Regions from separate parts of the Homo sapiens genome. Here region 1 is linked to region 2. The links are contacts of gene promoters, found by promoter capture Hi-C in human tissues and cell types (Jung and others, 2019). All regions are on one chromosome and are shown on one strand. The core of a region is centred on a gene start or on the middle of the fragment in contact, and the rest is flanking DNA. Distances in the headings are between cores, read along the strand shown.

The links. Contacts are between HindIII fragments. The study calls those that stand out against the background at their distance.
Region 1: a contact is called between a fragment that was not itself captured here and the fragment with the promoter of ZFP64 in region 2, in 1 of the 25 tissues and cell types used here (hippocampus).

Annotation. Positions count from the first base shown.
Region 1 is chr20:50,917,955-50,924,370 of GRCh38, reverse strand. The region is part of intron 2 of ADNP (activity dependent neuroprotector homeobox); the gene reads left to right. Among named protein-coding and RNA genes, the nearest start is that of ADNP-AS1, 9.8 kb to the left of the region's middle. The HindIII fragment of the contact is 7,393 bases long and covers 1-5,057 here.
Region 2 is chr20:52,188,019-52,194,538 of GRCh38, reverse strand. ZFP64 (ZFP64 zinc finger protein) reads left to right here and starts at 2,760. Exons shown (of 6, transcript NM_018197.3): 1 at 2,760-2,948. The coding sequence starts at 2,903. RefSeq lists enhancers at 1,879-2,008, 3,049-3,905 and silencers at 2,419-2,688, 3,049-3,288. The HindIII fragment of the contact is 31,514 bases long and covers 1-6,520 here.

The DNA of each region.
Region 1 (6,416 bases), core at 112-2,611, 1.3 Mb after region 2:
GGATTCCAATGGCGTCTACATGTAAAGAAGCTAGCCACACCCCCAGCAGGGAGAGTATGGGTGTAAATTGTGCAGGTGGCAGTTAATTGGAGTAGCATATTTCTGCTGGGAAGTTAACTGTATAAGAATCTAAAAAGAAACGTTGTTTATGTTCCCTTTTCTTTTCCCAGTTTTTTAGTTTAAGACAGTCAGTCTGTCCTGAGCAGTTACTTTTTTCTTAGATAATTGCTGGCTTTTACCCTTTCTTTTTCTGAATCCTTCATGCTCCATTTAAGAGCTTGTGGAAACCTGTGCTTCAGTTGACAATCTGTAAAGCTCTGCTCTTCTGGTGGAAGCTCATGACCTGAGAACCTTTTGAGTGGTCTCTTTTGAGAAACTCCTGTCTAGTGGAAATATGGTGGAATTTATTAAAATTTTCAATTCGAATTATAAATTTAGGTTGACAGAATCCTTGCTCTTGTGAAAGAAGTGAGCTGAGACTGGGAGTATCCAAATGCAAGAAGTGCTCAGAATCCTGCTTCAAGATCAGTTACACTTAAAAACAGCAACAAGAGGATGGGTGCGGTGGCTTACATCTGTAATCCCAGCACTTTGGGAAGCCAAGGCTGGCGGGTCACCTGAGGTCAGGAGTTCAAGACCAGCCTGGCCAACATGGTGAAACCCCATCTCTACTAAAAATACAAAAGTTATCCTGGTGTGGTGGCACTCACATGTAGTCTCAGCTACTTGGGAGGCTGAGGCAGGAGAATCACTTGAACCTGGGAGGCGGAGGTTGCAGTGAGCCAAGATGGCACCACTGCACTCTAGCCTGGGTGACAGAGTGAGACTCAGTCTCAAAAAAAAATAAAAATAAAAAACAGCAACCAAAAAAAATGCAAATAAAACTTCTCTGAGGAAAGTGTGAAAACTTGAGCCATCAAGTGGCAAAACCTGGTACAAGAACGCTTTTGAAAAGCTACCTTCGGTGAAGCCTTGATCCTGGGAAATGGCTTCGAAAAACTTGAGAACATAGTTTAAATATTCTGTTACTCAAGAATAGTGAAAGAAATATATTTCCTATTGTGGGAAATTATTTCTGAGTAGTTTCGGTAGAGCATAAAAATGTATTATTAGGGGATCAAAATAACGTTTTATGTCATTTAGATACAAAGACTTGGCATGCTTCTGAAATAATTTATAAATGGACATATCTGCGTGTCCTCTTGTGGTGTTGTGATACATACTGGTTTTCATCCACCACGGTTCCTGGCTCATAACACCCATAACCCCATTACCGTGTTTTGTTATAATATAGGGTACGTTAGGTCTCAGAAAATAATCTCTGATCTTCTCCTGCTCTCCTTACACGTGTCCCAAGGCAAGATTCTGATCTTTACCCAGCTTTCTGATTGTAGGTCTTGAGATCCTCTCTAGAGAGAGGGTGTTGGCCCTATACCCCGGGGAAGGGAAGTAAGGTTTCCTATATGAAGCTTTTATAAAAACCCAGGAGGGCCAGGCGCGGTGGCTCACGCCTGTAATCCCAGCATTTTGGGAGGCTGGGGGCGAGCAAATCACAAGTTTAGGAGTTTGAGACCAGCCTGGCCATCGTGGTGAAACCCCATCTCTACTAAAAATACAAAAAAAATTAGCTGGGTTTAGTGGTGGGGGCCTATAATCCCAGCTACTCAGGAGGCTGAGGCTGGAGAATTGCTCAAACCCGGGAGGCAGAGGTTACAGTGAGGCGAGATTGCACCACTGCACTCCAGCCTGGGGGACAGAGTGAGATTCTGTCTTTAAAAAAAAAAAAAAAAAACGCAGGAGGACTGGGTTCAGAGAGCTTCCAGATAGTTGAACACACCTGGAGGGTGGCGCCCCCAGAGAGGGTATGGAAGCCCAGTGCCCTTACGCATTTCTTTATCTGTACTTTTTATAATAAACCGGTAAACATAAGTGTTTCCCCAAGTTTTGTGAGATGCTCCAGCAAATTAATAGAACTCAAGGAGGGGGTCTTGGGAACCCCAGCTTGAAGTGTCAGTCAGAAGTTCTGGAGGCCCAGACTTACAGTTGGAGTCTGAAGAAGGAGAGAGCAGTTTTGGGGACTGAGCCCCCATCTTGTGGAATATGACACTGTATCCAGGTAGACAGTGTCAGAACCAAATTAGAGGATACTCAGCTGGTGTCCGCTGCTTGGGAAAAAACCCTACACGTTTGGTCACAGAAGACAACTTCACGACTTCTGTGTGGTGTGAGGGCAGAGGAAAAACAAAGTTTGAGAGTTTTCCCCTAAAGCACCCCTTAAGGGCTACTTGTGAATTATTTCCCTTTTTCACATTGATCTTAAGCCAGATTGTCCACTTACAGCGACAGCAAGTGGCTGTATGCCTGTGGAGTTCTTATGTAGGCAGTGGAGTGCTAGAATCACTCTTTATGCTGTGTCCCTGCCTTGCTGCAATACCTGTTTAGAGTGAAGTAAACTGGGAAGTGCTCCTCACCTCACACTCTCCCTAAATCTAAATTGGTATATTATAAAGTATCCTCAGTCTGTTTTTCTTGTTTAAGTACCGAGGCATCTTCCCCCGCTTTCAAATACAATTTTAGGTGAACTCTTAAATTGATGAAGGGTCGGGGGGCCAGACCTCTGGCTGCCCAGCTTTCACCTTGTCCCTCAGGCATCATCTTCCCTCTGTTTGTATACATATCTTAAACTCTTAGAGGAGTTCAGCCTGAAAACAACTGGTTCTACTGGTGTACTGGAAATTCTGGTGGTCACTGCTAGAATTCTTGCCTGAAATCTGAATACGGAAAGTATCAGGATAAGCAGCAACACAGTAGCAGTTTTCCAGTTGTGGGCACCAGTCTTGTAGTCTGAAAATCTTCCTAAAAGACCAGTGACTCCACATATTTTTTAAAACTTAAGATACGCAAAATCTAGATGACACCTTTATGTTTCTACATAACTGTAAGTCACCTGGGTTTATTTAAGATAGTTGCAGATGTTCAGTTGCCTAAATATTTTAAGTGTCACTGAGCTTGTTAAGAATATGCAAACCTGAGTATGAATGGCTCACACAGATGTAAAATATTGTATAAAAACACTACTGTGCATGATGCATTGTAATGTGTACAGGAACAGATGTTGTTATGGCAACCACATCTGATTCTCAGTCATAATAGTTTGAGCTTTTTGGAGAGGTTATGCCCTGGTGTGAACTCAGAATTTTGAAAGTGATTATTTTAGTATCTCATCTGGTTTAAGGTGATAATGGTAACTGACTTAAGCATTAACTTGCATCATCTCATTTAATCCTTCTGCCATTAAAACAATGAGATAGTGTCCTTCTGCTTATGCCATAAGAAAACAGACCTCTAGAGGTTAAATAACATGTGTAGGATCACAAAGCTTGTAAGTGGCAGAGCAAGGATTTAAATACAGATCTGTCTAACTGTAGGGTGGACCACTGCATCTTTATTTTCTAGCAAAGAAAAGCTTTACTGTGCTATGTCACCCTACCTCTTGTTAAGGAGGTTTGAAGTTATAAGGTACAAATTTTTTACATATGGCTGATAGGTAAGTTTTTGTCCAGGAAAATAGTATTATTAGCACAAATTTTGACTTAGGCTATAAGCTTCACCTGTGAACCTTTTCTTTTCCCCTCGTTTTACTCTTACCCCAGTATCCTATTATCTCATACCTAAGGCAGTGATGGTTTCTCAGACCTCTTAGATTGAGAAGATGTGGCATGGGTGTAAGGTCCCTCAGGTAATTCTGAGGGTTGGGTAGGTCTGGTATCTACTCTTTTACTTAATTGACTTCCTCCAGGCTTTTTTTTTTTTTTTAATGGAGTCCAGGCTGGAGTGCAGTGGCGCGATCTCAACCTCTGCCTCCTGGGCGCAAGAAATTCTCCTGCCTCAGCCTCCCGAGTAGCTGGGATTACAGGCGCTGGCCACCACACCGAGCTCATGTTTGTATTTTTAGTAGAGATGGGTTTCACCATGTTGGTCAGGCTTGTCTCAAACTCCTGACCTCAAGTGATCTGTCTGCCTTGGCCTCCCAAAGTGCTGGGATTGCAGGCATGAGCCACTGCTTTCTTTTTCTTTCTTTCTTTCTTTTTTTTTTTTTTTTTTTTTTGGAGGTGGAATCTCGCTCTGTTGCCCAGGCTGGAGTGCAGTGACTGCAACCTCCGCCTCCCGGATTCAAGCAATTTTTCTGCCTCAGCGTCCTGAGTAGCTGGGATTACAGGCGCACACCACCACGCCCGGCTAATTTTTGTATTTTTAGTAGAGATGGGGTTTCACCATATTCGCCAGGCTGGTCTCGAGCTCCTGACTTCGTGATCTGCCCATCTTGGCCTCCCAAAGTGCTGGGATTTCAGGCATGAGCCACCACACCCGGCCTGGATTAATCCTCTTAAAGTGCCATTAGAATCATGTCCCTTCTGTACTTCGTTACCTGCAGCATCTCCTCGGTGCCTACCAGACATGGCAGCAGACTCCAGCTTCACATTCAAGATCCCCATCCTATCCTCACCCTGCCTTTCCAATCATGTCGTTCCTTGTTACTCAGAAGCTTGACATAGCAACCATTCTGACTCAGTGGAGTTGAGCAAGAAGTTCCTAGAACACCTTGCTTTCCGGCCTCTGGAACTGCGCCAGAAGTCTTTTGCAGTAAATGCAGATTCTTCACCTAAGTTAATGGCCCCAACTCAGCAGCTGTTGCCACCCTCCCTGCTGAGAATGAACTAAACATGAAGCCTCCTAGGATTTAGTTTGTGACACATCTGATACATCGCCTCTTTTACTGCAAATATTTATTGGATGTCATATCTGTAAGCCTTTTCTAGGCAGAGATTCATTCATTCTGTCTGAATTTATTGAGTGCCTGCTTTGTTCTAGTCATTGACATAGATGATAGAGATACAGCAGGGAAAAAAACCAAAGTTCCAGGGTCTCCCTTTGTAACGCAGGCTGGAGTATAGTGGCACCATCATAGCTCACTGCAACTCAAGCCATTCTCCCACCTCAGCCTCCCAAGTAGCTGGGACTATAGGCATGCACCATCACACCTGGCTTTTTACATATATATATATATATATATATATACACTTAAATATATGTATTTTTTCAGGCTGGTCTTGAACTCTTGGGCTCAAGCAATCCTCCCACCTCAGCCTTCCAAAGTGCTGGGAGCTGTGAGCTACACCTGTGAGATGGCACCCTTGTCCTGCTGCATATTTTAAGAGTTCTGTTTAGTCCATCAATTGAGGTCAGGAAAATGAACGTGCTGAAAGATAATATGTAATGATAATAATTTGTAGACATAAATGCCAGCCGTGTCTGTTAACTATTTCAGGTGATATTGTACTAAATCTCTGAAATCACCTGTGATGAACTTTTAAAATAAATAAAACTTTTAAGTCACAGTGTGATTATAATTTTTGTATAATTGGTAGGTAATGTGATGAACCAGGCTGTTTATTTACCATTAGATTGTTGGTTTGCTATAAATGAACTACACCAGCATGAGAGAAAACAAAACTTCCTTAAAGTGCTAAAATTAAATTTTTCATCATTCTGTTACCTTTCAAAAGCTTTCCATTTCATTTTTCCCAGGACCTCTCCTCTTGTTCTTCTACTTTTGTAGCGGAAACTGAAGGTAATTTGAAATTTTAACACATGGGAATTCTCTGAAGATCTTTTCTCTACTGCCACATGCTCAAGTTTGCAAAACAAGGTAGTTGAACGTCTCACTGAAGTAACCCAGCTGTACTAAATCTATTAGTTAAGGCAGAGTGAATCAGGGCCTTCATTGCCAAAAGTAATATAATATCCTGTTCCTGGCCTCTTGGAGTGGAGCAGATTTGCCAATAACGTGAACACTCTACCATTTTTTTTTCTTTAAGTACTTAAAGGTTTTGGGGCCACCTAGGTTCCATTAATGTATTACCACTCATATTAAATGATTATAGTGTCAAAAATGGTCTGGAAATTTGTATAGACCTTCAAAATGCTGTGTTACATCCACGGTTTGTTCTAGAGGTTCTCTCCTTTTCTGGGTAATATTAACAAATGCTTAAGATTCACATTTTGGTAAAGAGATCCATCAGTGATAAATGCCCCTGATTTTGAACCCAGACCACCCTGCTGTTGAAATTATAAGCAGACTTTGTCTCCTTCCCTAATCAATACTGCTGCCTTAAATTTCCCAGTAGCCACTTTAAAAAAAAAGAATGTGTTTATTTTTAATTGTTGTAAAGTATACATAAACTTTACCATTTTAGCCTTTTTTAATCTTGCAGAACTGAAACTCTATACCTGTTAAACAATAACTCCTCTTTTCTTCCTTTACCCAGCCCCTGGCAACCACCATTTTACTTTTCTGTTGCTATGAATTTGTTTATTCTAAGTACCTCATGAGTGGAATCATACAATATTTGGCC
Region 2 (6,520 bases), core at 1,511-4,010:
CCCAAAGTGCTGGGATTACAGACATGAACCACCTTGCCTGGCCAGAATAGTATTATTGGCTGGGAAGGTGCATGAGGGAGCCGACCAGGGCTGGAAATGTGTGTCTTGGAAGGGGACTTCCCAGGTGTGCACATATGTAAACATTCATCAAGCAATAAAAAATAAATATTGCCGTAAGCTGCGGTGCTCTGCTGGGTCATGTTAGCTAGACAGGTATCATGAAGGTGATGTCGCAGAGTCGCAGGGAGAGTGAATACTTTAGGTAAGACATAGGAAAGGTCTCTCTGGGAAGGCGACATTTCATTTGATGCTGGATGACCTAAAATAGCCAGTCCTGCAAAGACCAGGAAAGCAATCCAGGCAGAGGGAGGAGCAACAACAGCAAGGAGCCTGGTGGAGCTGCCTGGGCAATGCAGGGTGAGAGTGGTGTGATCTGCAGTGGGACTGGCAGGCCACAGCCAGTTACATCTAGCTCATTCCTGCCCCAGGGTTTTTGCTCCCACCAGTTCCTCAGGCTGGAATTGCTCCCCCCTCATCCTCACATGGCTGCATCCTCCCCGGCTCCTTGTTCAGATATTACCTGCTCGGAAAGGCCTGCTATGACCAGTTCTACAGCCACTATTACAGCCCCATTTTATGGTCTTTGGAGCCCTTATCACTAGCAAAATGTTGAGAACACATGGACACAGGAGGGGAACATCACACACCAGGGCCTGTCAGGGGGTGGGGGGCAACGGGAGGGAGAGCATTAGGACAAATGCCTAATGCATGTGGGGCTTAAAACCTAGGTGATGGGTTGATAGGTGCAGCAAACCACCATGGCACATGTATACTTATGTAACAAACCTGCACGTTCTGCACATGTATCCCAGAACTTAAGGTTAAAAAAAAAAAAGGAAGTTTTATATATATTTTTTATATATATAAATATATAATATATAATATATAATATTTTATATATAATATATATTGTATATATTTATATATAATATATATATACATAAATATAAATATATATTAAATATATTAAATATTATATATTAAATATATATATATTTACAGTACTGATTTGATTATTTCATGTTGACTGCCTCCCTGGTCTACCTCCAGCAGCTAGCCCAGTGCCTGGCACTTCACAAACACTTGAGAATAAACAGCTGCTGCAGGCAGAAACCAAGCCTTAGAGGCAGCAGCAGGGAAAATCCCATTCATTATACAAGCCATATTTACTAAGCCTACTATGTGTCAGGCACCAGCCAAGTCACTGGACTACATCAGTGAAGCAAAGAGATTTTTTTAATCCCCATTTTTACAGGGACTTACTGAAAATAAGGGGGAGGAGAACACAGATAATATACAACTAAATTATATCTAAGCAGATATACTCGAGATACATAATATGTTCCATCTAACACCTTTTAAGGACAAAGCAGGCCAGGCATGGTGGCTTACACCTGTAACCCCAGCACTTTGGGAGGCTGATGGAGGATCGCTTGAGGCCAGGAATTCGAGACCAGCCTGGGCAACATCTCTACAAAAATAAAAATTAAAAAGTGAGCCAGGGTGGTGGCCCACGCCTGTAGGGGGGATTGCTTGAGCCCAGGAGTTGGAGGCTGCAATGAGCTAGGATCCGACCACTCTTCCAGCCTGAGAGACAGAGAAAGACCCCCTCTCTAAAAAAAGAAAGGGAGAAAGAGAGAGAGGCAGAGAGAGAGAAAGAAAGAAAAGAAAAGAAAAGAAAAGAAAAGAAAAGAAAAGAAAAGAAAAGAAAAGAAAAGAAAAGAAAAAGAAAAAGAAAAAAACAGGAAGGAGACAGGGAGTGGTTGGGGGAGGAGGAGGGGGCTGCAATATTAGAATGATTAGATTAGGCCAAGCATGGCCTCCCTGAGTGTGAATTTGAATGCTGACCTTCAGAAGCAGGACAGACTCTATGGGCAAATCCCTCGAGGCTGGGAGAGGTCTGAGGCTTGGGAGGGTCGGCAGAGAGACAATAGGGCTGACGCAGGAGCCCGGGGGAGACAGTAGTAGTAAGACATGAGGGACAGAGCAGAGAGGTCACTGTCCTCAGAGTGTGGACGCCGACCAACACTAGGGGCATCACCTGGGAACTTAGAAATGCTCGTTCTCACGCCTCGCCCCAGACCTACTGAAGCAGAAACGCTAGGGTGGGCCCAACAGCGTGTGTTCTAACAAGCCTTTCAGGCGACTGCGATGCACGATAAAGTTGGCAGCTCCTGGAGCAGGGGTCCCTCCGCGCTACGACCCCACCTCTTCGCGGTCCTCTCAGTCTCCCTAGCGGGGCAAGGGACCCGCCCAGCGCTTTGCTGATTTGCCCAGCGCTCACGCCCAACCTGGGTTTCTCCGGAGCTCGCCGCGCCCCGCGCACCCACCCCGCAACGGCAGCCGCACGTGGGTCTCCCCGCAAACCACCCAGGCGTCCCGGGAGCAGCGCTGCTGCACGGCCGCGCTGGGGGCCCAACGCCTGGGGTTGCAGGTGCAAAAGGCGCCCCGAGCCGGGGAGGCCAATCGCGTCCGCGGAGAACGCAGAGTGCGGGCAGGGGCGCATCCCTCGCCACCCGCGGTCGCCCAGCACGCCGGGACGCGCGTGGCCATCCAGCTCCCCGGGGGCGTTGGGGGGCTCCGCGGGCCTGGGCCTCGGGATTCGCCCGCCGCTTCCCCGGGGAGCCGCTGCTGCAAAGCCAGGTTGGGGCGCCGGGCCCGGCCAGCGCCCTCTAGGCAGCGGAAGTGCAGCTTGCTTTACATCCGTCCTCCCCGCCTCGCAGAGTTGGGAGAAGGCAGGGTGGGGGGTGTGGAAAAATAAAAGGAAAAGTCCTTGCACCATGTAGATCAGCGTCCCCCACTTTGGCATCCCGGCCGGCCGGGGACCTCCCAGTCTGCGGCCATGAACGCGAGCAGCGAGGGCGAGAGCTTCGCGGGCTCGGTGCAAAGTAAGTGCTTTTCCGGGAGCAGTGCGCGCTCCGGGGCCCAGTGCGCGCTCCGGGGCCCGGGCCCAAGCACGTCTGCGACGCAGCCAGCAGGCCCGGGGCCCCGAAATCGGGGTGACGGCTCGGAGCCGCGTCTCGGGGACCGCGGCGGGCGCGCTGTGCAGGGGGCGCCGGAGTGGGCTTGGGGTGGGGGCGCACCCGACCTGGCGCAAGACCGGGGGCGCTCTCCAGCCTTGCGAGACCCCTTGGAAGGGAACAGTGGGGGAGGGCACGCCGTTCAGACAATCGCCACCCCCTAAGGGCATTCCCGCCCCATCAGGCGGAGTTTGGGGCGGGCAGGAGAAAGGGAGGAATCTAGGGTAAACGGGGCAACACTGATGGGAAAACTTCTGCCTCAGTGGCTCAAAATTAGAGCCTGGAGATTGGGGGAATCACCAGGTCTCACGAGGTCCTGCCGGCTCATTGCAAAGCCTTTTCCTCATTAAGGGTGGAGATCTGAATGGAAAACGGGGCCGTGGTCGCTTTATTTGGGTTTGGGGTTCAGTTTTTATTTAACCGAGGAGGACATCAGCGTTTTTCAAGTCCCTGGTTTCTCCCGGTGCATTGTTTCCCAAAGTGTGGTCCAGAGACTGAGTGCAACCAGCCACCTGGGAGCGAGAGCGTGTATTTTAAAACAGCTTTCTGGGCCCCACCCATTCAATCTCGGGGGTGGGGCTGGGGATCCGCTGTCCTTCGTAGCTGCCTGGGCAACTCTGAAGCACATGAAGTTTGAGAACCCATCTACCAGGGGTTTGCAGAAAATCTGGCACATAGTAAGCTCCCAGCTTGTTAGCTGCTACTGTTAACAGTTTGGGAGACACTGGGTCCCAAACTTGGCGGTGTATTCCTTGCATTACTGTGAAAAGCACAGATTTTCCTAAACACCATCCTCCCCACCCCACCCTGTTATGACTCAGTATCTCCTAGGTGGGGCTCAGATATGTCCATGTTTAAATAGTGTACCTCAGTAAGAACCCAGCAGGTAACATGCTGGGGGACTGGCGGGGAGGGGGGACTGTGCTGGTACGAGCACCATCCCATTTAATTCTCATAACAAGCCCGTGTTTTTTCTTGGAGAAATTAAAAACAAACAAAAACCATGGATTAGAAACCTCTCCTCCCATTTTTCAGATGAGAAAACCCACGCTTAAAGTCACTGTTGTTAAGCGACAGTGTCAAGATTCTAACGAAGGTCTATGTCGTTACTTTTGCACTTTCCACATACCAGTGACATTATCTGTTATGAAAATCCTTTCATTCTGGGTGTCAGTCCTATTCCATCATTAAGGAATCGTCAGCAATGCAAGCTACTTCATGTCTCACTTCCTTGTTTCCTTGTTAGTTCCATGGGTATCTCAGTATCTGCCAGAGAAGAAAAGGTTTCCTTCCTTCCATCCATTGATTGCAAAGTGCTTAAGTGTATCCCTGCAAGATGGCTTATCACAGTGCTCAGCCCAGTCTCCTTAGCAAGTCAACCAAACTGTATTTCTGAACAGAGATTTCTTGTCTTAGCTAGACCTGGGGAAAATTGGACATAATGTAAATATCTTACAAATTTTCAGAAAATTATGAGGCATAATTTTATCTAACCATATATGCACAAAGGTAGTCTTGTATCATTTAACTTGGGAAAAATTGGAAATTATGTAAATACCTTATTGTTGCTGAGAAGATTATGACGCATGGACACCATGGAATAATGTATTGCCATTAAATAATCATATATATATGAAGAGATTTTAATGATATAGCACAATGTTTATGCAATGTTTAGGAAAAAGGGCCAGGCACGGTGGCTCACGCCTGTAATCCTAGCACTTTGGGAGGCTGAGGCGGGCGGATCACATGAGGTCGGGAGTTCAAGACCAGCCTGACCAACATGAAGAAACCCCATTTCTACTAAAAATTCAAAATTAGCCTGGCGTGGTGGTGGCGCTTGTAATCCCAGATACTCCGGAGGCTGAGGCAGGAGAATCGCTTGAACCTAGGAGGCGGAGGTTGCAGTGAGCTGAGATCGTGCCCTTGCACTCCAGCCTGGGCAACAAGAGCAAAACTCCATCTCAAAAAAAAAAAGGAAAAAAATTAGGAAAAGGATTAGTTTTACAATACTATGATCTGAATATTTACAATATTATGATCTTATGCAATTTTTTTTTTTTTTGAGATGAAGTCTCGCTGTCACCAGGCTGGAAGTTCAGTGGCATGATCTTGGCTCACTGCAACCTCCACGTCCCAGGTTCAAGCAATTCTCCTGCCTCAGCCTTCTGAGTAGCTGGGATTACTGGCACGTGCCACCACACCCAGCTAATTTTTGTATTTTTAGTAGAGACGGGGTTTCACCATGTTCGCCAGGATAGTCTTGATCTCTTGTTGTGATCCACCCATCTCGGCTTCCCAAAGTGCTGGGTTACAGGCGTGAGCCATCTTACGCAACTTTTAAGTGTAAAGAAAATGAATGGAAAAAAATATTTTATAATATTCATGGTAGGCAGAGATGGAAATATTGAGTGATTTTCCCCTTCTTTATAAGTTTCTTCTAAATTTTCTTATAAACACGAGTTATCTTTTTTTTTTTATGTGAGACGGAGTCTCGCTCTGTCGCCCAGGCTGGAGTGCAGTGGCACAATCTCAGCTCACTGCAACCTGCGCCTTCCGGGTTCAAGCAATTCTCTTGCCTCAGCCTCTCTAGTAGCTGGGATTACAGGTGTGTGCCACCACGCCGGGCTAATTTTTTTTGTTTATTTTTAGTAGAGATGGGGTTTCACCATGTTAGCCAGGATGGTCTCGCTCTCCTGACCTCATGATCTACCCGCTATGTCTTTATTGAACAAGTATTTATATAGTAGCTTCTAATACAGTGCCAAATACTACACTAAGTGCTTTCCAGGTATTAATATAGTATTAATTCTTGATATGATTAGTATCAAGAAATAATGTCGGCCGGGTGCGGTGGCTCACTCCTGTAATCCCAGGGAGGGATTTGGGAGGCTGAGGCGGGCAGATCACGAGGTCAGGAGATCGAGACCATCCTGGCTAACAGGTGAGACCTCATCTCTACTAAAAATACAAAAAATTAGTCGAGCGTAGTGGCGGGTGCCTGTAGTCCCAGCTACTTGGGAGGCTGGGGCAGGAGAATGGCGTGAACCCGGGAGGCAGAGCTTGCAGTGAGCCGAGATCGCACCACTGCACTCCAACCTGGGTGACAGAGCAAGACTCTGTCTCAAAAAAAAAAAAAAAAAAAAAAAAGAAAGAAAAAGAAATAATGTCCCTGCCAGTTAGGAATGAATTTTGGCTACAAGTAGCAGAAACCCAAATTATACTGGCCTAATGAAATCTGGAATTGATTGATTGCAGTGTTGAATCAGGGAAATCAGTGAAGTAAAGGGCAGAGCCCATAGGGATCTTGGCATTTTTCTCATAGTTACAAGATGGCTGCAGAAGCCCCACCATCACATTTGCATCCAAAGCCAGAAGAAAAGGGGCACATTGCTAGCCACATCTGCTCCCTTTTCATCACAAATGCCAAACTTTTCCCA